7 separate regions of the Homo sapiens genome follow, and regions 1, 2, 4, 5, 6 and 7 are each linked to region 3. The links are contacts of gene promoters, found by promoter capture Hi-C in blood cells and fetal thymus (Javierre and others, 2016). All regions are on one chromosome and are shown on one strand. Each heading gives the region's core, a stretch centred on a gene start or on the middle of the fragment in contact. The rest is flanking DNA. Distances are from core to core; before and after follow the strand shown. Region 1 overlaps NIPBL (NIPBL cohesin loading factor). Region 2 overlaps CPLANE1 (ciliogenesis and planar polarity effector complex subunit 1). Region 3 holds the start of SLC1A3-AS1 (SLC1A3 antisense RNA 1). Region 4 has its middle 100 kb from the start of RANBP3L. Region 5 overlaps NADK2 (NAD kinase 2, mitochondrial). Region 6 has its middle 170 kb from the start of CPLANE1-AS1. Region 7 overlaps RANBP3L (RAN binding protein 3 like).

What was found. The method cuts DNA at HindIII sites, captures the fragments that hold promoters and counts their contacts. A CHiCAGO score of 5 or more calls a contact.
Region 1: a contact is called between a fragment that was not itself captured here and the fragment with the promoter of SLC1A3-AS1 in region 3, in 1 of 17 cell types (naive B cells). The highest score is 5.6, in naive B cells.
Region 2: a contact is called between a fragment that was not itself captured here and the fragment with the promoter of SLC1A3-AS1 in region 3, in 1 of 17 cell types (naive CD4 T cells). The highest score is 5.7, in naive CD4 T cells.
Region 4: a contact is called between a fragment that was not itself captured here and the fragment with the promoter of SLC1A3-AS1 in region 3, in 4 of 17 cell types (M1 macrophages, monocytes, M0 macrophages and 1 more). The highest score is 9.2, in M1 macrophages.
Region 5: a contact is called between a fragment that was not itself captured here and the fragment with the promoter of SLC1A3-AS1 in region 3, in 2 of 17 cell types (neutrophils and naive B cells). The highest score is 5.6, in neutrophils.
Region 6: a fragment that was not itself captured here is called in contact with the fragment with the promoter of SLC1A3-AS1 in region 3 in 2 of 17 cell types (erythroblasts and monocytes); the score reaches 5.5 in erythroblasts.
Region 7: a contact is called between a fragment that was not itself captured here and the fragment with the promoter of SLC1A3-AS1 in region 3, in 1 of 17 cell types (monocytes). The highest score is 6.8, in monocytes.

What each region holds. Positions count from the first base shown.
Region 1 is chr5:37,034,019-37,037,420 of GRCh38, forward strand. It overlaps NIPBL (NIPBL cohesin loading factor), which reads left to right. Exons shown (of 47, transcript NM_133433.4): 33 at 2,361-2,469. Among named protein-coding and RNA genes, the nearest start is that of NIPBL, 160 kb to the left of the region's middle. The HindIII fragment of the contact is 921 bases long and covers 1,484-2,404 here.
Region 2 is chr5:37,114,826-37,118,133 of GRCh38, forward strand. It overlaps CPLANE1 (ciliogenesis and planar polarity effector complex subunit 1), which reads right to left. Exons shown (of 53, transcript NM_001384732.1): 51 at 135-224. Among named protein-coding and RNA genes, the nearest start is that of CPLANE1-AS1, 130 kb to the right of the region's middle. The HindIII fragment of the contact is 5,052 bases long and covers 1-3,308 here.
Region 3 is chr5:36,723,152-36,726,658 of GRCh38, forward strand. It overlaps SLC1A3-AS1 (SLC1A3 antisense RNA 1), which reads right to left and starts at 2,037. Exons shown (of 2, transcript XR_007058736.1): 1 at 1,963-2,037. RefSeq lists enhancers at 615-664, 675-724, 765-1,034. The HindIII fragment of the contact is 5,384 bases long and covers 1,421-3,507 here.
Region 4 is chr5:36,402,715-36,406,091 of GRCh38, forward strand. No RefSeq gene overlaps it. Among named protein-coding and RNA genes, the nearest start is that of RANBP3L, 100 kb to the left of the region's middle. The HindIII fragment of the contact is 4,575 bases long and covers 1-3,377 here.
Region 5 is chr5:36,223,015-36,226,186 of GRCh38, forward strand. NADK2 (NAD kinase 2, mitochondrial) reads right to left here. Exons shown (of 12, transcript NM_001085411.3): 4 at 2,528-2,609. Among named protein-coding and RNA genes, the nearest start is that of NADK2-AS1, 3.5 kb to the left of the region's middle. The HindIII fragment of the contact is 2,276 bases long and covers 772-3,047 here.
Region 6 is chr5:37,073,329-37,076,488 of GRCh38, forward strand. It overlaps a transcript of CPLANE1 not described here. Among named protein-coding and RNA genes, the nearest start is that of CPLANE1-AS1, 170 kb to the right of the region's middle. The HindIII fragment of the contact is 1,244 bases long and covers 1,177-2,420 here.
Region 7 is chr5:36,259,243-36,262,385 of GRCh38, forward strand. It overlaps RANBP3L (RAN binding protein 3 like), which reads right to left. Exons shown (of 14, transcript NM_145000.5): 7 at 2,697-2,800; 8 at 1,538-1,622. All of the region lies in intron 1 of LOC124900962 (a long non-coding RNA gene), which reads left to right. Among named protein-coding and RNA genes, the nearest start is that of NADK2, 19 kb to the left of the region's middle. The HindIII fragment of the contact is 2,047 bases long and covers 849-2,895 here.

The DNA of each region.
Region 1 (3,402 bases), core at 694-3,193, 310 kb after region 3:
AAATACATAAGAACTTCTCTCCTACAAAACCAGTGTAAGTCAAGAGTCCCAGTAGAAAAATAGGTAAAGTTAATTAATAGGCATTTCATGGAGAAAATAGCATATAGGACCTATACTGTGTTCAACCCCATTAGTAAAGTAAGAAATACAAATCAAGACCACATTCTACACCATTTTATTGACAAAAATGGAGAAGTCAGACAATCACAAGTAATGGAAAAGAGGGATCAGGTAGTGTCTTTTAATACAGATAATAATTGAGAAAGTATTACAGCCACTTGAAAAATGATTTCATAAAATTATCTCATAAAAGCATTATCTTGTGAAGTTGAACAATGCATGTATCCAATGACCCAGCAATTCGACTTCAAATATATATACACACAAAAGAATCTTGCATATTTGCATCAGGAGGCATATACAAGAGTGCTTATTGTACTAAAATTGGGATTAACCTATCTACAAAAGAGTGGATAAATGAATTAAGGTATAGGCACACAGTGGGGTGTTGTACAGCAGAGAAAATCAGTAAAATACAGCTGTATGCAGTAACCTAGATCATAGTGGCATAATGATGAGTGAAAAAAGCAAATCTCAGAAGACTACATCAAGTATACTACCTTTTTAGAAAGTGGAAAATCAAAGAAAAATATAAATAGCATACAGCTTATACTTTTTTTAAAAACAAGGAGATGGTAAATTTCTGATAGTGGTTATCTCAAGTGTGAAACAGGAAAATGGGATAAGGGAAGGAGCACATTGGGAGCTACAAGATATTAAAATTATTCGTGTTCTTGATTTGGATTCAAAGTATGCCATTATTTATTAGTAAATTAGAAGGGCATATACGAGTGGCAACAGTGTGTCATGAGTCAAAATTTATGATTAATTCTTTTGTGTGTACCTGAAGCCTTGGAAATGAAAAAGGAAAAACCAAGGATGAGAGAGGATAGTTTTCTACTCCTGCCGTTAAATAAAAGACCAAGCTAGGCCGGGCATGGTAGCTCATGCCTATAATCCCAGCACTATGGGAGGCTAAGGCAGGCGGATCACTTGAGCCCAAGAGTTTGAGACCAGCTTGGGCAACATAGAGAACCCCATCTCTACAAACTGTACAAAAATAAGCTGGGCACGATGGCTCACGCCTGTGGTCCCAGCTGTGTGGGAGGCTGAGCCTGGGAGGGCAAGGCTGCAGTGAGCTTTGATTGTGCCACTGCACTCCAGCCTGAGTGACAATGAGACCCTGTCTCAGAAAAGACCAAACTAGAATGTGATATTAATAGCTGCTTTAAGGAAATTAGAGAATGGGGCAGGAAGAATTTGCGGTTCATAGTTGAAACCTAGTACATTGAAGCTGTCTGCTTTATTTATTTCTTCAAATTGGAGGAAAAGGGGCAGTGTGTGTGTTATGTTACTCTGGTTGCTGTCAGTTGTTTTAATCATTTATGCATCTTGTGGGGAAAGTTTAAGCTTGTGCTGCCCAAGCTTGTGCCCAACTGTAAGCCACATGCATTTTTTTAAATGTTAACTTAATTTCAATTTTTATTTTATTTAATTTTAATTTCTCAGTCACAGTAGGTACATTGCAAGTGCTTAATAACTGCATGTGACTCTTGGAAACCATATTGGACAGCAAAGATATAGAATATTTCCATTATTGCAGAGAAAGTTATATTTAACAGCAGTGGAACTCTTCACAGAAATCAAATACACATTTAGATTCCTTCAATATCCCCAGAATTAGATTAGCTAGCTTTTCTTAGGAAAACAGATATACCTTATGACTTTTCTGTTGACCTTTGATTATGAAAGATTAGATTGGTTTTACTTTTTAGCTATATTTAGAATGAGCTCTATCCTCATCTCATTATTCATAACACTTTTCTAGCATTGTTTGTGATTTTGCAAAGGATAATGCAGAAAAGAAATCTACCGTTATGTTTTATAATTGCCTTTTAAGGTGCAATTCAGATGCAGTTATTAATTATTTAAAATAATTCAACTAGTATTATGTGATACTGTGTTTTTGATTGGAATAGGGAGAAAGGGAAGGTCATCTTTTCTACATCTTTCACGTATTACCTTAGGTCTTACACAGCAATTTAAGTACTTTGTAGTAAAATTGTTTGAAAGTATTGGTAAATTACTGGTTTATAAGATATTTTTAAACATATATATTTTTGTTTTATTAATTTGCACTTTGAGTATTAAATTGTTAATGACAAATTGAAAAGTATGTTACTTATGGACACTTTTAATGTGTTTATATTATTATTGCCTAATGAATAATTATACCGGGATTTTTTTTTCTTTTTTGTATATATATATGTATATATATATATATATATATGTATATATAGTTGTTGAAGTCCGAAGAGGATTCCTCATATAAACCTGTGAAGAAAGCTTGTACTCAACTTGTTGATAACCTAGTTGAGCACATTCTTAAATATGAGGAATCTCTAGCTGGTAAGACATTTTATATATATATTGATCTTTAGTTGATTTTATAAGATATTTTTAAATATTTTGAGTAAATTTCTCATTTTTGCCTCTGGCTCTGCTTGTCTAATGATTACTTCACTTTTAAATGAAATACATTTTTGTTATATAGGTATCTGTTTGATGTTGCATCCTAGATTATATTAAGATTGACTAAGATTATCTAGAGCATTGTAATAAAAGCATGGGCCTCACCTCTTTCACATATCTTTTAATAGCATATTATAATTTTAGATGTCATATTGAATAGGAGTAAAAATCCAGGGGCTAATATGTATCTAGCTAATGATACTCATCACAAAACTGATATCTCCTAAGTCATATAAAATTATGTCTCAAAATGAAATTGTTTTAGCTATTATAAAAATGTTTTTTAAAGATTTATATTACATTCCTAATATTTATTATTTATAATTGTTACATAAAGTTTGCTTAATCTTGAGCTAGAAATTTATTAAAATGTTTAAAATCACAAATTATTTAAGTACTTAATATTTTATATTATCTCACATTATTTACCAATCACAAATCTGAAGTTTTTTAATCAATTATAAATAAATGATTACTTAAGAAATATAAAAATTGGGCCAGGCGTGGTGGCTCACACCTGTAATCCCAGCACTTTGGGAGGCCAAGGCGGGCAGATCATGAGGTCAGGAGATTGAGACCATCCTGGCTAACACAATGAAACCCCGTCTCTACTGAAAATACAAAAAAATTAACCAGGCATGGTTTTGGGCGCCTGTAGTCCCAGCTACTTGGGAGGCTGAGGCAGGAGAATGGCATGAGCCCGGGAGGCAGAGCTTGCAGTGAGCCAAGATCACGCCACTGCACTCCAGCCTGGGTGACAGAGGGAGACTCCGTCTCAAAAAATATATATATATATATGTATATATATAT
Region 2 (3,308 bases), core at 1-2,500, 390 kb after region 3:
GGAGTGGAGGTTACAGTGAGCCGACATTGCACCACTGCACTCCAGACTGGGCAACAGAGTGAGACTCTGTCTCAAAAAAAAAAAAAAGAAAATTCAGTATTAAGTCTAAAAACTTTATCTTCTTTATCCCTTACCTTTTTGGAAGGTAACTGGAGACTGCGTAGCCTTTCTTACTGCTGCTTTGGCTCCACCAGCTTTTTTCTGTATGGTGAAAGTGGCAGTTCCTATACAGAGAGACAAACATTATTAGCCTTCCATAGACATCCATGATTTTTATATATATTGTGAGTTATTTGAGGACAGACACCTTGGTGATCAGCTTTGAATCTGCTCACCAAGCCCTGTTCACAGTAGGGGCCCAGTAAATGGTGGCTGGTTTGAACCAAGGTGGCAAAACTTAAGTGCAGACAAAGAAAGGGAATACTTTGCTTTGACACCTGGTATCCTTCAAGCACAGCCATACTCTTTTTTCAAATGGCAAATGTGTTTTGACATCTCTGGCAACTGGAAAAGCTAGGGACATAATAAGCCTCTTAGCAGTAAACACCTAGACAAAATGCCAAGTTAAATTTTATCAACCGAATGATTAGTTTCTTAAACTCAAAGATTAATAACAACCATTTACTTCCATGTTATGCAATATCTCTTATTAATATAATCCTCAACAACTCTATGAGGTAGGTTTCAAATAACTTATCTGAGGGCAAAAATCAGCAGCAGAGCTGGGATATAAACCTAAGTTTAGAGGATTTAAAACTTAGACTTTTATTTCTTTTTTTTTTTTTTTTTTGAGATGGAGTCTCACTCTGTCACCAGGCTGCAGTACAGTGGCGTGATCTCCACTCACTGCAACCTCCACCTCCCAGGGTCAAATGATTCCCCTGCCTCAGCTTCCCGAGCAGCTGGGACTACAGGCACACACCACCATGCCTGGCTACTTTTTTTTATTTTTAGTAGAGACGGGGTTTCACCATGTTGGCCAGGATGGTCTTGATCATCTGACATGATCCGCCCACCTCAGCCTCCCAAAGTGCTGGGATTACAGGCGTGAGCCACCATGCCCGGCCGACTTTTACTTTTTTATGCCTAAGATGCCTCTCAGTTACTAATCATATAATCTTTGTATTGTAGTTGACAGAACTAAACATAAAACAAGCAACAATAACACAAACTACTCCTGGCCAGGCATGGTGGCTTACGCCTGTAATTCTTGCACTTTGGGAGGCCAACATGGGAAGATTGCTTGAGCCCAGGAGTTTGAGAACAGCCTGAGCAACATGGCAAGACTCCGTCTCTACGAAAAAATTTAAAAATTACCCAGGTGTGGTGGTGCACACCTGTAGTCCCAGCTATTCAAGAGGCTGAGATGTCTCACACTACCAGGCACGGTGGCTCACACCTGTAATCCCATCACTCTGGGAGGCCAAAGCTGGCGGATCACTTGAGGCCAAGAGTTTGTGACCAGCCTGGCCAACATGGTGAAACCCTGTCTCTACTAAAAAATACAAAAATTAGTTGGGCACGGTGGTGCAAGCCTGTAGTCCCCGTTACTCCGAAGGCTGAGGCAGGAGAATTGCTTGAACCTAAAGGACAGAGGTTGAAGTGAGGTGAGATCACGCCACTGCACTCCAGTCTGGGTGACAGAGCAAGACTCTGCCTCAAAAAAAAAAAAAAAAAAAAAAAAAAAAAAGGCTGAAGTGGGAAGATGATCTGAGCCAGGGAGGTCAAGGTTGCAGTGAGCCATGATCACGCCACTGCACTCCCTTCTGGGCGACAGAATGAGTTCCTGTGTCCAAAAAAAAAAAATTTCCTAACAGTATGGAAGCAGGGCTGAAGAAATTAGCCAAAAACTACATACTGCTTTACAAGATAGAAAGCAACATAGAGTCAAACTCCCAAGCATATTCAGAAAAACTCTTCATTTACGAATGAACTACAGTGAATTTGAAAATCTTGATGGAGCCTCACCTCCCCACATGTGCAATGACTGAACTTGACCTATGTGAGTTCAGGTTATCTGTATCACTGACTAGGAAAAGGTCTGGAATCAGTCTTGCCTGGATTTCCCTCCATTCTCCCAAACACTGGGGGACCTGAAACTTCTGAATGTAGCCAGGTGAAATGGTTGGGTCTGGGTGTGACAGAGGCCACAAGAACAAGGGGAGCCACAGCCTGTTCTACTGAGGCAGAGAAGTTAGAATATCCACAAGCACTCAAGCTGCCTCTTTTATCTTTGCCTTAAAAGACAGGACAATAGCCAGGCATATGGTATTATTCTCTGACATGGTATAAATACTATAATACCCGCCTATTAATATCCTTGAACAATAATTTGTTTATAAATAGCTATGCTTAGGCAAAAAGCTCAATAACCATTTTTTCCATTTATCCATTTGTTCAATGTTCGAGTATTTCATCTGTTCAACATGAGGGGTAATAGGAAGATGAGCAAGGGAATACTGCTGCAAAGCATTTAATCTAGTATGGGGCATGAAGTTTACAGGTAACAACAACAGGACACCTGTTGTAGTGCTTCAAGAGGGACATAAACATGTGGTTAAGGGTTCAAAGGACAGAAAAATAACTGCTTTAGCCACCATTATCTCTAATTTTCATAGCAACCATGCAGATTAAATATTAGCCTCAATTTAGAAATGAGAATGTAGAATATTAAATTGATTATATCAGCGTGGATGAACTAAAGAATTACAATTAGGAATGTCTTCAGACACACAGAAGTGAGACATTCAAGGTATAAAGGAGCACAAATCATGGCATGTGGTTGGAAAACAAGCTGCTGAGCAGCACAGGTTCTATGGGGAAAGGAGGTCAAGGAAGCAGGAAAACACACAGATGATGCCTTGAAGGCCAAGCAGAGGGTCTAGACGTTTCTGTGTGGGTATAAGTGTTGCTGAGGGCTTCTGAGCCCAGGAGTAGCAGGAGCACCTCCTCAAGCATAATCCAGCAAGGGCAGGTGAGATTAACGGAAAGACGGGCTAAGGCCATAGCAACCGTCAAAGCACAAGGTAAAAATAAAGACTTGAAATTGAACACATATAACAGGAGGACATATTTCCATATAATTCAAGACTTTTTCATCAGATGTTAAGAAACCATGGCTCAGGTTTTTAAAACCTTGACAATTTTAGATATGTATTTAATTCTGGCAAATATATCAGGTACAAAATAAGTTTTTTTATATAAGCATGTTTCACTATTTTGAAATTTCAGTTTTAAAAGAGCAGTATTTTCTTACTGTAATTTGTCAATCAAAAAAGCCAAGAGCTGGTCAGGCATGATAGCTCACA
Region 3 (3,507 bases), core at 787-3,286:
TGGGCCCTGAGCCAGGATTATTTTAACTGGTAGCATTAGCTGGGTCAGACCGATCAGCCTCTATGGGGAATACTTTGGGAACTGTCATCTTCCAAGCCAGCGCAAGAACAGCCTCTGCCACTGAACTGATGGTGATACACACGGTATTTGGAGGGCAAATCTGATTCACATGCAGTAGCAGGAGATGGAAGAGTGGTTAAAATGAAAGGGAGAGGAGAAGAAGAGCAAGGGACGAGCATAATACAGGGAAAGAAGAATAATACAGGTAGAATAGGAATTACATAGAAGGGAGAAGATCATTTTTTAAAAAAAATAAGGGCCAGGCATGGCAGCCTATAATGGTAGGCAGCACTTTGGGAGGCCATGGCTGGAGGACAGCTTGAGGTCAGGAGTTTGAAATCAGCCTGGGCAACATAGCAAGACCCCCATCTTGACAAAAAATACAAAAGTTAGCCAGATGTGGTGGAACACACCTGTAGTCTCAGCTACTCAGGAGGCCGAGGCAGGAGGATCACTTGAGTCCAAGGGTTTGAGGCTGCAGTGAGCTATGATCATGCCACTGCACTCCAACCTGGGTGACAGAGACCTTGTCTCTAAAAAGTAAAGAAATGAAATAGAAAATAAAAACGAATGGTAGAAATAAAAGGAACTGAGTAGTAGGGGGCAGAGGCATGTCTAGGGGAGAGAACTAGAACTGCCAAGGGATTTGAGTGCCTGATGGATTCTGAAGACTGAAATATACATGACCCCAAAAAGCAATGTCATTTGTAAATATTTGTTAATGAGTTTAGTGAAGTGCTACATGGAGGAATGATCTAGCCAATGAGAACAATGTGCACCAGCCAGTTGGATTCTTGAAGCTGCAGAGACTTCATCTTCAGCCACAGCAGGTGGCTGAGGGCTAGAGTTACTTGGGACTTTCCCCAATGCTCTAGTTCCTTCTATCTCTTGGAAACAAGTCTGGCTCAATATGTTCAGCAGCCCCATTGATGTTGCCCAGAGGAAGTGTGGATCAGGGCTCGCTGACCCCAAGGTTAGCAGCAGAAGAGCAGGGCCTCTGCCTCCCCAGCCAGGAAGCCCACAGTCTTGGCCACATGAATGAAGGAGGTCTTGGCAGCATCTGACACACCTCGGGGTAATGATTTAGCCACCCCAAATTACCGTGTCTCCACAAAATAGTCACTTGGGGCCACACTACATTGTGGAGAGATAATGAAAGAGCTTCTATTTTTGAGCTATCTTTTCCTCATATGCGAATAATTTCACACACAAAAAAATGAGAAAACCACTTCTCTCTGTCACCTACAGAATCAGGAACAGGGATCAGATTATCTTTTAGATACCCGCCCCAAAAAGAAATAAAAATCAAGAAAACATGGGTAAATACCATGGTGGACATTTAAATGAAGCTGAGAAAGAAAGCTTTCTCTATTTAGAGAAGAATTCAAAATGGATGGCAGGAGATTTGTTGAAAATAAGGAAGAGGGAGGGAAAGGTTAGTAAATAATAGGTCAAATCTTCAGCCTAGAGGGCACTACTAAGTTTTCTTTTGTTCCCCCTTAGGTTTCCTGGTGTAGCAGTGCAGTTGCAACGTAGTTTTGTTTTTTGGGTTTCTTTAAACCTAGAGTGGTAAGAGGGACTTGGTGGCGATGGACTGCCATGGGTCGGTTCCTTAGAGGGCTCTTGAGTTTTTCCCACCTGTCTCCAACTCCAGGGCCACCACTCTAATAAAGCCACTGCCATCTCTGACCAGCTCCCCTGCTGTGGCTTTCACTCTTGCTCTCTTTACAGCCCATTCCACACAGCAGCAGCCAGCATGGCACTTCCCGTTCTGGGCCCCTCCCACTGACTGCACCCTGTGCTTGTCCTTCATAGTGTGTAAAGATCTGTATGTGGGGTGATTTGACTAACGGTTCTCTCCCCTTAAGTATAAGTAAACCTATGAGGGCAAGGACTGCTTACCTTAGCATCCTTGGTTCCTGGTAGGATGCCCATCCCATAACAGGCTGGAGCTCCTGGGTGTGTGGGAGGGAGTAGGAAGGAAGCAACAGCTGCCAATCAAAGGCCCATTTGGGCATGTGACCCTTAGCTAGCCAATCAGAATCCTTTCCAGGGTTGTAGCAGTTGAAGCTGTGAGCAGCTCAGTTGGTTGGGTTGTCTGTCTTGTCTTGGCTTGGATTCTCCCAGAAGGAGATCCTGAGTCAATGATTCGGGTGCAAGTAGATTTCTTCTGGGAGCCTTTCTTTAATAAAGCACTTGCACCTGAGTCATTGACTCAGGATCTATTTCAGGATCTCCTTCTTGAGGGAGAGGGCGAAACAGGATCCAGAAGAAGCAAAGCAATGGAGCAGGCATGGCATCAGGAAGAGGACAGGGAGGCTGCCGTAAGCCCAGCAGGCTCCCTTTCAGGCTGTTAAGGAGGGGGATGAGTACGAACATGAAGGTGGCCCAAGTAGCTCTAAGGTCCCTTCTCTCATCTCCTGTCCTTACCGGGGGCCGTAGGCTCTAGATAAAACGCTGCCCCACCACCCGCCAGGGCTTTTGTTTTGGCTCACCTTTCATCCGCCTTCTCAGACTCTGTCTGCCTTGGCTTCCCTCAGCTGAACCCAGGGAATTTGCATTTTGCTATTTTCCATCTGCACTGGGTAGCCTGGCTCCAGATGTTTGGGGCAGCAAATGCAGAAATTCCAGGCAAACGGATCTGATCATTCTCTGCTTGGCTCCACTCGCTGCATCCCAAGCACCAGATGCCTCACTGGTGTCTGCCTACCTTCCTGGGAGGCAGATCCACCGCTCATAAGATAGAGCCCAACGACAAGACCCTGTACTTATGGAGGCCTTTTATTTAACAACTCATTTCATTGAAGGAAAAATCTAGAATCTACTAAGACCTCCTGATATTTTTTAATTAACTAGAAATTGTGGATGTATCCCTCAATATTTTCATCTAAAGTGGTTGAAATGATAATGGAGGGGAAACTGTGTTTTAAAAGCGTGTTACTCCATTTCTTTCATTCACCTCCATCAATGATAATATGAGTTATCACTCTTAATATTAACCACGTGGCAGGCTTCATGCATTCTCACATACATTTCACCCTAAGGCCTGGAGAAGATAATTTCACCAAAGTCACACAGGTAGTACATGGAAAGGTGTAAATTTGAACCTGGATCTTACTGCAAACCCATACTCTTAACTGCTTCATTCAACTTTTGCCAGCAATCATTTGTCATAGACTAAATGCCAGAACCTAAGCCCAAGATTTTGCAGTATACAGAGGAGAAACTGGATGTCTTTTGAAATGCTTCAGAATGGTTTCTATAGTACATATCTGAGCAGCACTCCATGACCAAAGGATGCCAAATCCTTTGCCCCTTGTATTACACTTCATTCATTAGTTCATTCATTCATTCAACAAATGCTTATAAAGCACTCCTGTAAGGCATTATTCTAGGCACTGAGTGTTTGTTATTGAACAAAAAGGACAAAAAATACCTCACTATTCT
Region 4 (3,377 bases), core at 149-2,648, 320 kb before region 3:
TGGACTCACTGGGGCTGAAAGGTCGCATGTAGGGGAAGGAACAGCAAGGCAAAAGCTCTTGTAGAAACCATAAGTGATGCCTTGGGAATTCTGCTCTGAGAGCTGTTGTGAGCCCTGCCTGGAATGTTTTTAGCTTCTCTGGGGGTCTTGCTGTTAGTGAGGTTATTTCTGTTGCTGACTTCTCTTCCTTCTCAGCCTCTATGGTCTTGCACCTGATTAAAATAAACAGAAGCCACCAGACAGATCACTAAGAAGGTAGAAGTTCACGAACAAAACAGCTGGTGTATTTGAGCAAATATTTTTTTTTGTTTGACAAAGTTCCGCTCTTGTTGCCCAGGTTGGGGTGCAATGGCGCGATCTCAGCTCACTGCAATATCTGCCTCCCTGGTTCAAGCGATTCTCCTGCCTCAGCCTCCCGAGTAGCTTGGATTACAGGCACCCGCCACCACGCCCAGCTAACATGCCCAGTTAATTTTTGTTATTTTTAGTAGAGTCAGAGTCTCGCCGTGTTGGCCAGGCTGGTCTTGAACTTCTGACCTCGGGTGATCCACCCACCTTGGCCTCCCAAAGTGCTGGGGATTACAGGCGTGAGCCACTGTGCCCGGCCACATTTTATTCTTTTAATTTCAACTGTTTTATTAAAACTCAGACCACCCTTATCTGGTGAACTGCTTGATCCTACCCAGCAGGTGAAAGGATCAGAGAAAATAACAACCAATCAATAGATGTCAGCAGGCAGTCTCATTCCCAAACAAGATAAAAGACCATGGACTCTGATCTCAAACCAAAATATTTACATATCTCGTTGAGGACATTATCGGCAGTTTGGAGGGGACATTATGGTGTAGACAACAAGAAAAATCACCGAAGGAAGTTGGGAATAGCCTGGGCTAGAAAAGGATGAGCTAACGTGTTGGGGTTAGGAATCTCCAGCTCTGATTTCTTAAGCAGCCATTGGAATAAGAAACTGGGCAAATTCCCAACAGGGTGGGGCAATCCCCCTGATCCCAGCCCATTGGGAAAAGGGCCTAATTCTGCTTCTCCCTTCCCATTCCCCAGCAGCAACATAAAAAAGCACAAAATGTCTCAGTGCTCTGGAATTTCTTCACTCAGATGACCCTGGGTGGATTTTGCATCAAAAACACAGATTTATGAAAGAGCAAATTATTTGTGAAAAATTCTTCACTTTAGAGGAAGAACTGTAGAGCATCACCACAGGCTTATTCATGACTACATTTGAAAAATATGATTCTAGGTCAGAGATTCTGGTATACCCATAGATTTTCAGGAACATATCTTCTGCATTAGAGAAACATTCTGCAAAAAATGTCCATCAGGCCCAAGCAGTTTCAGCAGCCGAGTAGCCCATCTGGGAAACAACTCCGGAACCCCTTCAGACAAACCCGCCAAGGCTGGGTGACTTGGCAGTCCCTGAGCCCCTGCCAGCTCATTTGTGGTCTGTATTTTTCACAGATGCTCCCTGGTGTGTAGCAATTTCCGGATATTTTTCAAATGGTTTTTATCCTGCCAGCTGGGTGCAGTGGAGGGACTACAGCTTGGACAACTCAGCCGGATGGACCCATCAAATTCAGCTTGCCAGCCCGGTTAGGATTAGACTGCATTGTTTGCGCCTTGCCCTGAGGTTGGCACCTATCCCCCTATCCTGTTGATTTCCATCCCTACTCCTTCCACTTCCCTAGTGCTCTTGGCCCCTGTTATGAGACGACTAGCCTGTCATCCTACCCCTATGAAAACCTCCTTCCCAGGTGGACACCATTAATGTGCAGGCAATGTAGTGGAGGGAGAACAATATTCTAAGAGTAGGAAAATGTGAGCTAGACCCAGTTCTGCTAGTAATTAGCTCCATGGCCTTGGTCAAGTTGTGTAACTTCTCTGGGTCTCATTTTCCTTTCTGATAAAATGAAGGCCCCCATCACTACTTTCAAGTAAGGCCTTTACCAAGTCATCCAAGTTGTTCCAGTAAGTTGCACATCTGACAACGGCCCATCCCTTACCACCTCCTCTAAATATGTTTTCTGAGATATTTCAGAAAATAAGATTTTAGAAGGAAAGCTGTATTAGTTGCACAAACCTACTTCAGTGACAGGCTAGGATTGAACATTAAAATTTGAAAGAAGACATGAATTCCCTTATTAATGCTGCTTAGGGGAAGAAGAGGCTGAAGGAAGGCAGCTTCTATAAAAATCAATGGTGAACTGGAATTTATCACCTCTGTGTGAGTCTGACCTCTCAGGACTTTTTCTCTAGAATCCCAGGATCCTAAGTAATGAATAATGAATCTAAACATGCCTTCCATGACCTTGAGGATATGCAAACATGAAATTTTGAAAAAAGAATAAAAGAAAGAAGAAAAATTCTGGAAAGTTTAACTTCATTTCTATTATCATACTCAAAATGAAAGTAATGTTTTCTCCAATTATAAAAATAATATAGAAATCTGGAGACTACCAAAAAATATAAAGCATAAAACAAAATCACTCATAATAGAGATAACCACTGGCAATGTTATGGCTGTTTCCTTTCACCCTTTTTGATCTGGACACTATCGAAACAGTTTCCTTCATGATTTTGAAGCATCAGTCTCATTTTAAATTCTCCTGGCTCATAGAAATCGCTGAATCCCACAGAATTCCAAGTACCAATACTACTTTTGGTTTCCTTTTCCATATTTCACTCTGACCCGAAATGAAAAATAATGCTGGCCAGACACGGTGGCTCACGCCTGTAACCCCAGCACTTTGGGAGGCCAAGGCGGGCAGATCACCTGAGGTCAGGAGTTCGAGATCAGCCTGGGCAATATGGCGAAACCCCATCTCTACTGAAAATACAAAAAATTAGCTGGGCGTGGTGACACATGCCTGTAATCCCAGCTACTCAGAAGGCTGAGGCAGGAGAATTGCTTGAACCCAGGAAGCAGAGGTTGCAATGAGCCAAGATTGGGTCATTGCACTCCAGCCTGGGCAACAAGAGCAAAATGTTGCCTCGGAGAAAAAAAAAAAAAAAGAAAAGAAAAGAAAAGAAAAATAATGCTAACAGGTGACTATTTCAATATGTGGTACAACTGGGACTCAATATGGATGTTTGCTGCTGCTTAGCGTTTATAAACAAGCCTTTGTCAGTGTCTCTGTTTCAGTAGGGAGTACAAGGCACATTTTTCTAATATGCACATTTTGCTCCTCTGTTTTAAATTCTTCAACGGCTTCCTATTGCCCTTTCGATAAAATTCACACTCCTGCAGAAGACTCACAGAGGCCATCATAATTAGACCCCTGATCCTCTCTCTGGTCTTGGCTTGCACCCCTTTCTCCCACACTCTCTGCTCCAGCAATACTGGTCCTCTGCCCAGGCTGTTACTC
Region 5 (3,172 bases), core at 660-3,159, 500 kb before region 3:
ACAGAACTGGTAAAGGGCCAGATAATGTACAGCCTGTATGTCACATTTAAGGTGACCAACTGTTCCCTGCTTTGCCTGGGACTGACATTCTCCTGGGACACAGGACTTTCAGTGCTAAAACCAGGAAAGTTCCAAGAAAACCAGGAGAAGTTTGTCACCCTATTCATAGTAAAAAGGTAGATTTTACCCTAAGTTAGATGGGGAGCCACGACAAAAAAAAAATCTAGGCAGAGAAGTTACATAATATTATCAAACTTCCATAAAATAATCACGCTGGCTGCAGTGGGGAGAAGAACTAAGAAACTATAAGGGTAAGAATGGAAGCAAGAAGATCAGTGTTGGAATAAAGATTCTGGAGTCCCAGGGGACTCCAATAATACCACAGTATTAATCAGCCTCCCTAGAGACAATATAGGAATTGAAGAAGAAAAAAGATGGCCCAGAGCACAATATGTAAAAACACCAGTATTTAGCCAGTAACCAAATAGTAAGATCCTTCAAAAGAAATACAGACAAAGAAGTAGTCACAGAGATAGGAAGAAAAAGGTATCATAAATGCCAACAAAGTACAGTTGAAATAAGGGAGCAGTTAGCACCAAAACTTCCCAGAAATCAGGTAAGACAAGGACTAAAATATCCAGTAGATTCGGTAAGTAGGATATCACTGATCTCTAAGGCAAAAGCAACGTCAATGAACTGGTTGGGGGCAAATCCATAAAAAAACTGCAAAGTTTTAGAAAATAACTGAGAACTGAAGGAGTGGCGATACCAAGCTTGGGGATAAGTGGAAGGAAAAGAGATAATAACCAAGAGAGTGACACAGGGTAAAGGATTTTTAAAATTTTCTTGAAAAACAGGAGTCTTGAACAAGTCTTTTTAGGCTAAAAGGAGTCAAGTGTGAAGGGAGAGAAAAAAAAGACAAGACAGGACAAGATTTTTTTAAGCAAGAGAAAAGGTGAAGTAGTTCTAATCCAGTGACTTTCAATTCCTCTGTGAAAACAAGGTGGGTTTATTGAAGAAAGAAGGATAAGGGAAGCAAAGTGAATGCAAAAGTTGAACTACTGAAGCAGCCACCACAGAGAATGGGGAAGAGAGATGAGTAGGGCTACATAGGAAGTTTGTGTGCAACTCTAAGTCCACCGCCAAGTGCTGAAGACTACAAACTGGAAGTGCCACCAAACCCAATGATCTTTTTTTCCCCAGATGACCATAGCAGTACTGATGCAGAAGTAGAAAGGATGATGGTCAGATTGATCTAGAATTGTGCAGAAAGATAATGATGAAGAAACATTTGCATTTTGGGAGGCCAAGGTGGGTGGATCACTTGAGATCAGGAGTTTGAGACCAGCCTGGCCAACATGGTGAGACCCCATCTCTACTAAAAGTACAAAAATTAGCCAGGTGTGGTGGTGCATGCCTATAGTCCCAGCCACTCAGGAGGCTGAGGCAGAAGAATTGCTTGAACCCAGGAGGCAGAGGTTGCAGTGTGCTGAGAGTGCGCCACTGCACTCCAGCCTGGGCAACAGAGCAAGACTCTGTCTCAAAAAAAAAAAAAAAGAAAGAAAGAAAGCAAGAAAGAAATATTTAAGAAAGTGAATGAAGTGAGGAAGAAATAAGTGGAGAAAATGGAGGTGATCAAAATACTGAAAGTCAAAGGGCAGATTTAGTGGGATAAAGTAATAAGGCTGCTGTTAAGGTAGAAGGCTACAGTCAGAGTGGAATTAATTAGGATTGTAGAGATAGGGAATTCCAGATCACCATAAAGTCCAGGTACAGTCATGGCTGTGGGTGGCTAGAACAGAATGAGGGTAAATATCACGAAGCTAAGGAAGGAAACAAAAAGTGCCAATAGTGTTTTTATTGGTCTTTTTATTAAGATAGGTCTTTTTATTAAGTCAGTAAAGTCACTGTCCCCCAAAAAAATCAGTGGTAGCATAATGAGGAATATAAATACAAGCCATAAGGAAGGGTAGAAAATGGATCATTATTAACTTGTCCCTCCTCAGCAATACCAAAGGTCCCCAACACTCACCTGGGTCAAGAACTCAGGTCTATTATGCCACAGATCCTACTCCCAAACTACCTGGGAAGCTAAAATGTGAGAACTGGTCCATCCTATAACATAATTTCCTACCACCAATGCCAGCTAGATGTATATATATTTTTCATGCCTGAGCTTAAAACTAGAGCTATATCCTTGAAAACAACTACATAAAAGACAATCCTACTCAGTTCTACATACCTAAATTTGATTACTAGAATGCTTCTGGAACATGGTTCTAATGTTCATGGTGGCCAGGAACAATGATGCTTCCACTTAGACACCATACACCTAGTAAAATGTCTGTAGCAACAGAGCCCAAGAATGTGAACATGGTCAAGAAAATAAAAAATAGCTTCCAAATTTTAAGACAGACCATAAAAAGATACTATGCAATCAAAGCAGAAATGCATGTATGTATAACCTAAAAAAAAACTTAAAAAGCACACCACACAAATCAAACAAAATGTATACGTTCTTTCTTACCGTTCTGGATCAGTGTTTACCCCTATAACTGGTTTAAGTCTGTCCAAGACTTTACTCGCTGCCAGCAGCATTGTGCCATCACCTAAGGAACATAAGACAAAATACAAGACATAACCAAATTTCTGTTATAAATCTAGTTTTTGGCCATTTTGAAAATCAGTAGTTTTAACAATCATACCCCACCCTGCTAACCGCTATAGCCTATCCCACTCCCTTTCTACCTATTATACCTTTGGATTCTCTCTCCCACTCTAATCCAGGATTTCATAAGTGGCAAGATTACATTTAGGCAGAATAATTCTTTGTTGTGGGGACACTGTAGAATGTTTTAGAGGTAGTCCCTTTACATACTAGTAGCACCCCACAGTTAGTAACCACTAATCTAATCCAAAAATTTCTATTAGCCAATCTTCTTTCCTTCTCCCATAACACCAGTCCAAATTCACAAATTATTTTAATAAAAACATATCCAATGTGTCCAACTTCAAATTTTTCTCTTCAACACCTGCTGTCAACTTAAAGCTTTAGAAACAGTAGCCATTAACTTAATGATAAAGTTCAGAAAAAAGTAAGTACAAGTATATTGGGACCAAAGAGGAATAGAATTTACCTCATCTCATTAAACTCTTTATCAACTTCATTTTT
Region 6 (3,160 bases), core at 549-3,048, 350 kb after region 3:
GGGTCATAGTGTTCCATGTGAGAGATGACAATAACTTGGGCTGGGGGGTGGTAGTAGTGGAGGGAGGGTAGTGGCCTCATTTGTTTGGAAAGTTAAGTCAGTCACGTATCTTTGGTTATTATAATTTAAATTGTAATAAGGAGATAACAAGTATGAACTTCCTTAGTAAAATCAGATGAGTGAAGCCAGCCTTCCTGGGTTGCATCCACATAGGAGAAAACATGACTTACTCCTCGTTCTTCTGGAGAATGGCCCATGAGGGAACAACCATCATTTTAAGTGAAGAATCTAAATATATTACATTATCCAGAAAGGAGAAAAGTAGTCTAGGTGGATTCCTGCATAACTGTAAAAAGTCAACTGAATCTTTAACATTTTGCCATTTATAAAATTCAAAGTAATTTCAAGACAATTAATGAAGGTTTTAACTCAATAAAGTTTGTTACTTAATAGTTTGATTTTGCTAATTAAAGAAAGAATACCTTATCCCATCTCTCTCCATCTAGTCCTTTGTAGAGGCAACCACTTTAAATTCTTAGCTCTTTCTTTGGGTCATTTATATTTCTAAAGAATATACTGTTACAATTTGTTAACCCTAGACCTTACATATTGAATTATATTATGATCTGTTGACTTTTTTATGATAGGTAAGGACTTGGCTCTCATGTCCTTCCCCTCTCCTCCCAATATGGATATATTTAATGAGAATTTATATAATATAAAACAACTATGTAAATATTGTTTAATCAGAGCCAACACTTAGTGTACTATAAATACATGTTCCTGTATATGATGTTTTCTTGTGTACTTTAATTCCTTTGGAATGTTCTTTTATATCATTCGCTCTTTGGAGTCTTCCCCCACCCTCTTCCTCTATCCCAGCCCCTCCTCCCCATTAGTTTTGTATCAATGTGGATTCGTTTTCCAGGGCTGCTGCAAAGTTGTTCCAGACTTTTCCTTCCCCATTTCTGGCTGGATCCAGAGTCCATCTCTGGCATCCATACTTTTGTCCTTTTAGCTTAAAATTCTCGGTTTGCTTGAGCATATCCTGCCATAACTTCCTAAGAATAGGTGCATGGGGACAAAGTTTTCGAATTATTGGATGTCTGAAAACGTCTTTAGTCTCATGATTGATAGCCGGGTCTAGAATTCTAAGTTGAAAAGTTTCCCTTTGAAAGCTTCTCATAGTCTCCTAGCCTGTGCTGTTGCTGTTAAGTGGACTGATACAATTATGATTTTTGTTCTTTTGTATACGATCTGTGTTTCCCCTCTCTAGAAGACTTTAGGATATTTTTTGTATTTCTGGTATTCTAAAATTTCATAGCGATGTCCCTTAATGTGAATCTTTTTTAAAAAACTCATTTTGCAGCTGGGCACCATGGCTCACACCTGTTATCCTAGCCCTTTGTGAGGCTGAGGTGGGAGGATTGCTTGAAGCCAAGAGTTCAAAACCAGCCTGGACAACAAAGCAAGATCCCATCTCTATTGTTTTAATAAAATTAATAAAATTCATTTTGCAGGGTGTGTTGTAGGCTTATTTAATCTGTGTCCTTAGCTCTGGAGAATTTTCTTTACTAACTAACTTTCTCCCCTTTAGTTTATTTGTCCTCTTAAATCTGTAGATACTGTTCCTTTTAGACTAATTTTCTCAGCTATGTTTTTTGCTCTTCCCTGCCCCCTTTCCTTTTTGGCTCTGTCTTCTTTGAGAGGAGTTTTCCTACATTATCTTATCTTTTAACTCTAATATTAAATAATTCATTACAACTATATATTTTAAATTTTGAAGGTTTTTTCTTGTTCTCTGATTGCTCCCTTCATATAGCAACTTTTATTTTATGAATAAATATACCACCTTCTCATATCATCTATTTGTTAGATTAGAAAGTAGAATTTTCAGCTGGGTGTGGTGGCTCACACCCGTAATCCCAGCACTTTGGGAGGCCAAGGTGGGTGGATCATGAGGTTAGGAGATCGAGACCATCCTGGCCAACATGGTGAAACCCCGTCTCTACTAAAATACAAAAAATTGGCCGGGTGCGGTGGTGCACGCCTGTAGTCCCAGCTACTCAGGAGGCTGAGGCAGGGGAATTGCTTGAACCTGGGATGCAGAGGTTTCAGTGAGCTGAGATTGCACCACTGCACTCCAGCCTGGTGACAGAGCAAGACTCCATCTCAAAAAAGAAAGAAAGAAAGAAAGAAAGTAGAATTCTCACTTGCCATCTGGGGGCCTGAGCTCAAGTCACAGCCAACATAGCATGTGTTCAGGATTAAGTAGGCCGAGAAATCACATGCCATATTCCTTAGAGATCTGATTCAAATTATAAACTGCAGCCAGATAGATGGAGGTAACATTAACAGCTTTATTGTCAGTAGAGCCAGAATACAGAACACATTGTAACCTGGACCTGCAATCACAATCAAGCTTGCTGCCTTCTTCCCGGAATCTAGACCTTGCAATGCATCTGCTGGGTCGAGTATTTGGCAAGGCAGATACTTACTTATCTATTTAGGCAGCCTACCAAAAGAAAAATTGCTTACCCCTCACTTGTCAAGCCTCAAGTGTTGGGAAAGAATAGTGTCACATGCAATTGGTTTTTAATACAGGTATTGCACTCACTTAAGAAATGGAAACAGGCTGGGCACGGTGGCTCACACCTGCAATCCCAGCACTTTGGGAGGCTGAGATGGGAGGATTGCTTGAGCCAAGGAGTTAGAGACCAGCTGAGGCAACATAGTGAAACCCCTATCAATCACTACAAAAAAAACAAAAAACAAAAATTAGCCAGGCATGGTGGTGTTTACCTGTGGTCCCAGCTACTCAGGAGGCCAAGGCAGGAGGATCACTTGAACAAGAGGTAGAGGCTGCAGTGGGCAATGATCACACCACTGCACTCTAGCCTAGGTGACAGAGCAAGACCCTGTCTCAAAAAAAAAAAAAAGAAAAGAAAAGAGAAAATTTGGGCTGGGGGGAGCAACTGATGTCAAACTTTTTTTTTCTTTTGTTTTTGTTTTTTTGAGACAAGGTCTCACTCTGTTACCCAGGTGCAATCTCTGCTCACCGCAACCTTCGCCTCCCAGATTCAAGTGATTCTCATGCCTTAGCCTCCCGAATAGCTGGGATTACAGGCACATGCCACTACGCCTGGCTAATTTTTGTATT
Region 7 (3,143 bases), core at 622-3,121, 460 kb before region 3:
AAATAAACTAAGCCTTTAAAATGACTAACATATGAAAGCCCTAAAAATTTTGTAATGAGTTTGGGCGCAGTGTCTCATGCCTATAATCCCAGCACTTAGGGAGCCTGAGGCGGGTGGATCGCTTGAGCTCAGGAATTTGAGGCCAGCCTGGCAACATGGTGAAACCCCGTCTCTACCAAAAATACAAAAAGTTAGCCAGGTGTGGTGGTACGTGCCTGTGGTCCCACCTACTCGGGAGGCTGAAGTGGGAGGATCCCTTGAGCCAGGGAGACAGAGGTTGCAGTGAGCCGAGATCGTGCCACTGCACTCCAGCCTAGGTGAAAGAGCAAGACCTCATCTTAAAAAAAAAAAAAAAAAATGGAATGAACTGGCTTAACGAGTTGGTTCTTTTATTAATCTAAATCCGTACATGGGTTTTTAAATCTCTGCAGCTTCTTTGGGATTCTTCATGTAACTGGTATCCCTGAGACAAGCTAGGCACGTTCGAGCTATCTCAGCCACTTTCCTGACTTGAGTGAAAGCTGGAAAAGGTATGAAGATGTGATGGACCAGATAAAACCATAGGCATGGTTTTCCACAGCTTTCACTTTTCTGTAAAATTTTCCACTGTAGATCAGAGTTCTGTGGGGATCAGAGAAGCAGTTACCTCATTGCAAGAGGATGCTGAACATTAAATAAGGATGATGGTAATAACGTGAGGGGTTTTCACTAGGCAAGTATATTCTCCTAGGCAAGTAAAGCACTATGAATTTTCTCTGAAAGCTAGCAAAAGAAAGTTATAATAATGCTTTTTGATGTAAGAGCTTGAAGTTAGGGTTGTGGTTAACTGATAAGAACAAATTGGCTCAAGCTTATAATCCCAGCACTTTGGGAAGCTGAGGTGGGCAGATGACGAGGTCAGGAGATCGAGACCATCCTGGCTAAGACAGTGAAACCCCATCTCTACTAAAAATACAAAAAAAAAAAAAATTAGCCAGGTGTGGTGGCACGCGCCTGTAGTCCCAGCTACTCAGGAGGCTGAGGCAGGAGAATCACTTGAACCCAGGAGGCGGAGGTTGCAGTGAGCAGAGATCGGACCACTGCACTCCAGCCTGGGTGACAGAGCGAGACTCTGTCTCAAAAAAAAAAAAAAAAAAAACCAAACTGGCAAATAATTTTAAATGCATCTTGTTACAAAATGATGACATCGACAAACTATTAAACTATCATTACCAACTGAGCTTATCTAACTATTGCAGATGATTCTGGGATTTCCTTGGGTACTTTTGGTTTAACACAAGTCAAAGAACTATTTAATATTTCACATCAGTAATAATGTTATAATTATACAGTTCCCTTCCTCTGTGGGTTTCTATTATTTTAACAACTAGGACATGCTTCCCAGGAGAATCTTTCCAGTTAAAGAAAGAAAATGTGCGTTTGAACTCAGGAGTTAAAAAGTATAATTCAATTTAATATTACTTTTAATTAATTTACCTTTAGAAATTTAAAGTGACAGCTCTGTATATAGTAATAGAAACATATACCAAAATCTTACCAAAACTCTTTCTACCATGTTTTCTCCAAAAACAAAATTGGAACTGCAGCTTTTAAAAGAACATTTATCTTCATTTGGTTGACATCTAAGAAAATGAAATAAGCATTTACTATTTTAAATACATAGATAAAGCCATTTTAAACCTTGAAATAATCAGATAATTTAATAGATTTATGTAAATCAAATTTACTGCTCACTTTTGTTAGTGTGAATTTAATGAAAAATGAAGGAAAAATTCAGATAGTGGCATCCAGAGGTGATTGTCAAAATAGTTTCCAGCTCTTACAGCACTGGCAGAGACCAGTCCTGACTGCCTCATGCCCATCACTGCACTGGCTGTGTGGTCAGCCAGGAGGGCTTCCCAACCCCTTTTGCTTTTCCAACACACCCTGTCTAGTATCTAATTTCCCCTCTTCTCTTCCTCAAGTGGCTGATGTTTTAGCAACCAGAGATCTCCAGGGCAAAAGCGAAACCCTGTCTGTTATAATTGAGTGTGCATTGGCTTAAATTTTTTGCCTCCCAGAAACTTTTTTTTAATGTTAAAAGTGTTTTTCATGATGAGAAACTCGAAGACCGGAAGCCCGCTCTTTGTAGACAGATGTGCTCAGGGTTCGGCATTGCATCCCCAATGCACATAGAAGGCACCTGCTACCGCACCTGGACAGAGCCCAGTCATGTGAGTCAGTTTATATCCACAGCTAGTTTTAACCTCTCAGATCAAACATTTATCCATCACTAGTAATACTAATAAATATTGCAGATTTATACTGCTTTCCTTGTTGCTTATCTAACCTATGCCAATAAATAATGTATAATGCCAAAATAAAAGAAAAAAATGCTAGAGAGAGAGGAAGAGAGCCTAATCTACTAATCAGATAATTTATGTCCAACTAAATAAAAGTTTAGCCATACATTTTCAAAAAGTTCTCACCCAAGTTAATGAAACAATGAAGACAATCCAGTATTAATATGATAATATTTAAGAATCGAAATATTTTTAAAAACATTTTAAACTTGTGTTTCCTATAAAATCTCCTTTCAAATGGGAATCTTGGCAATTTATCCGTACAAGGTCAGAAAATTATTTTCCATGAATGGTTATAATAATGAAAGAATGCAAGAATGAAAGGACAACGCTTCTATTTTCTCATTAACTTACCCTACTGATGTTGCACCTAAAAAGTCCTGGTTAGTAGACAGCTGGACTGAAATTCTAGCCCTTGATAAATTTTCACTTAACAAATAGGAATTTCCCTCAGAAATCTGAAAGTAAAGAAATCCATCAAAAAGTTTATAAAGACTACCTTACTATAGGACCATCAGACAAGGAAACAATAGTTATAGTTAAATATATTGAAAGCTTACTATGTTTAAGTACTGCCTTAAGCATTTTATGTACGATCTCATTTACTCCTTACAACTCTAACACTTTGTAATTCTATTGTCCACATTTTACAGGTGAGTAAACTGACACAAAAAACTTAAATAATTTGCCCAGGTCACATACAGTGGCGATCTGTCTAATACCGGAATATCATAATATTCAGAAATCCCACCATGTTTTGTTTATTTTTGCCATTTTAGTCAAATTGGGTTAATTCTCATT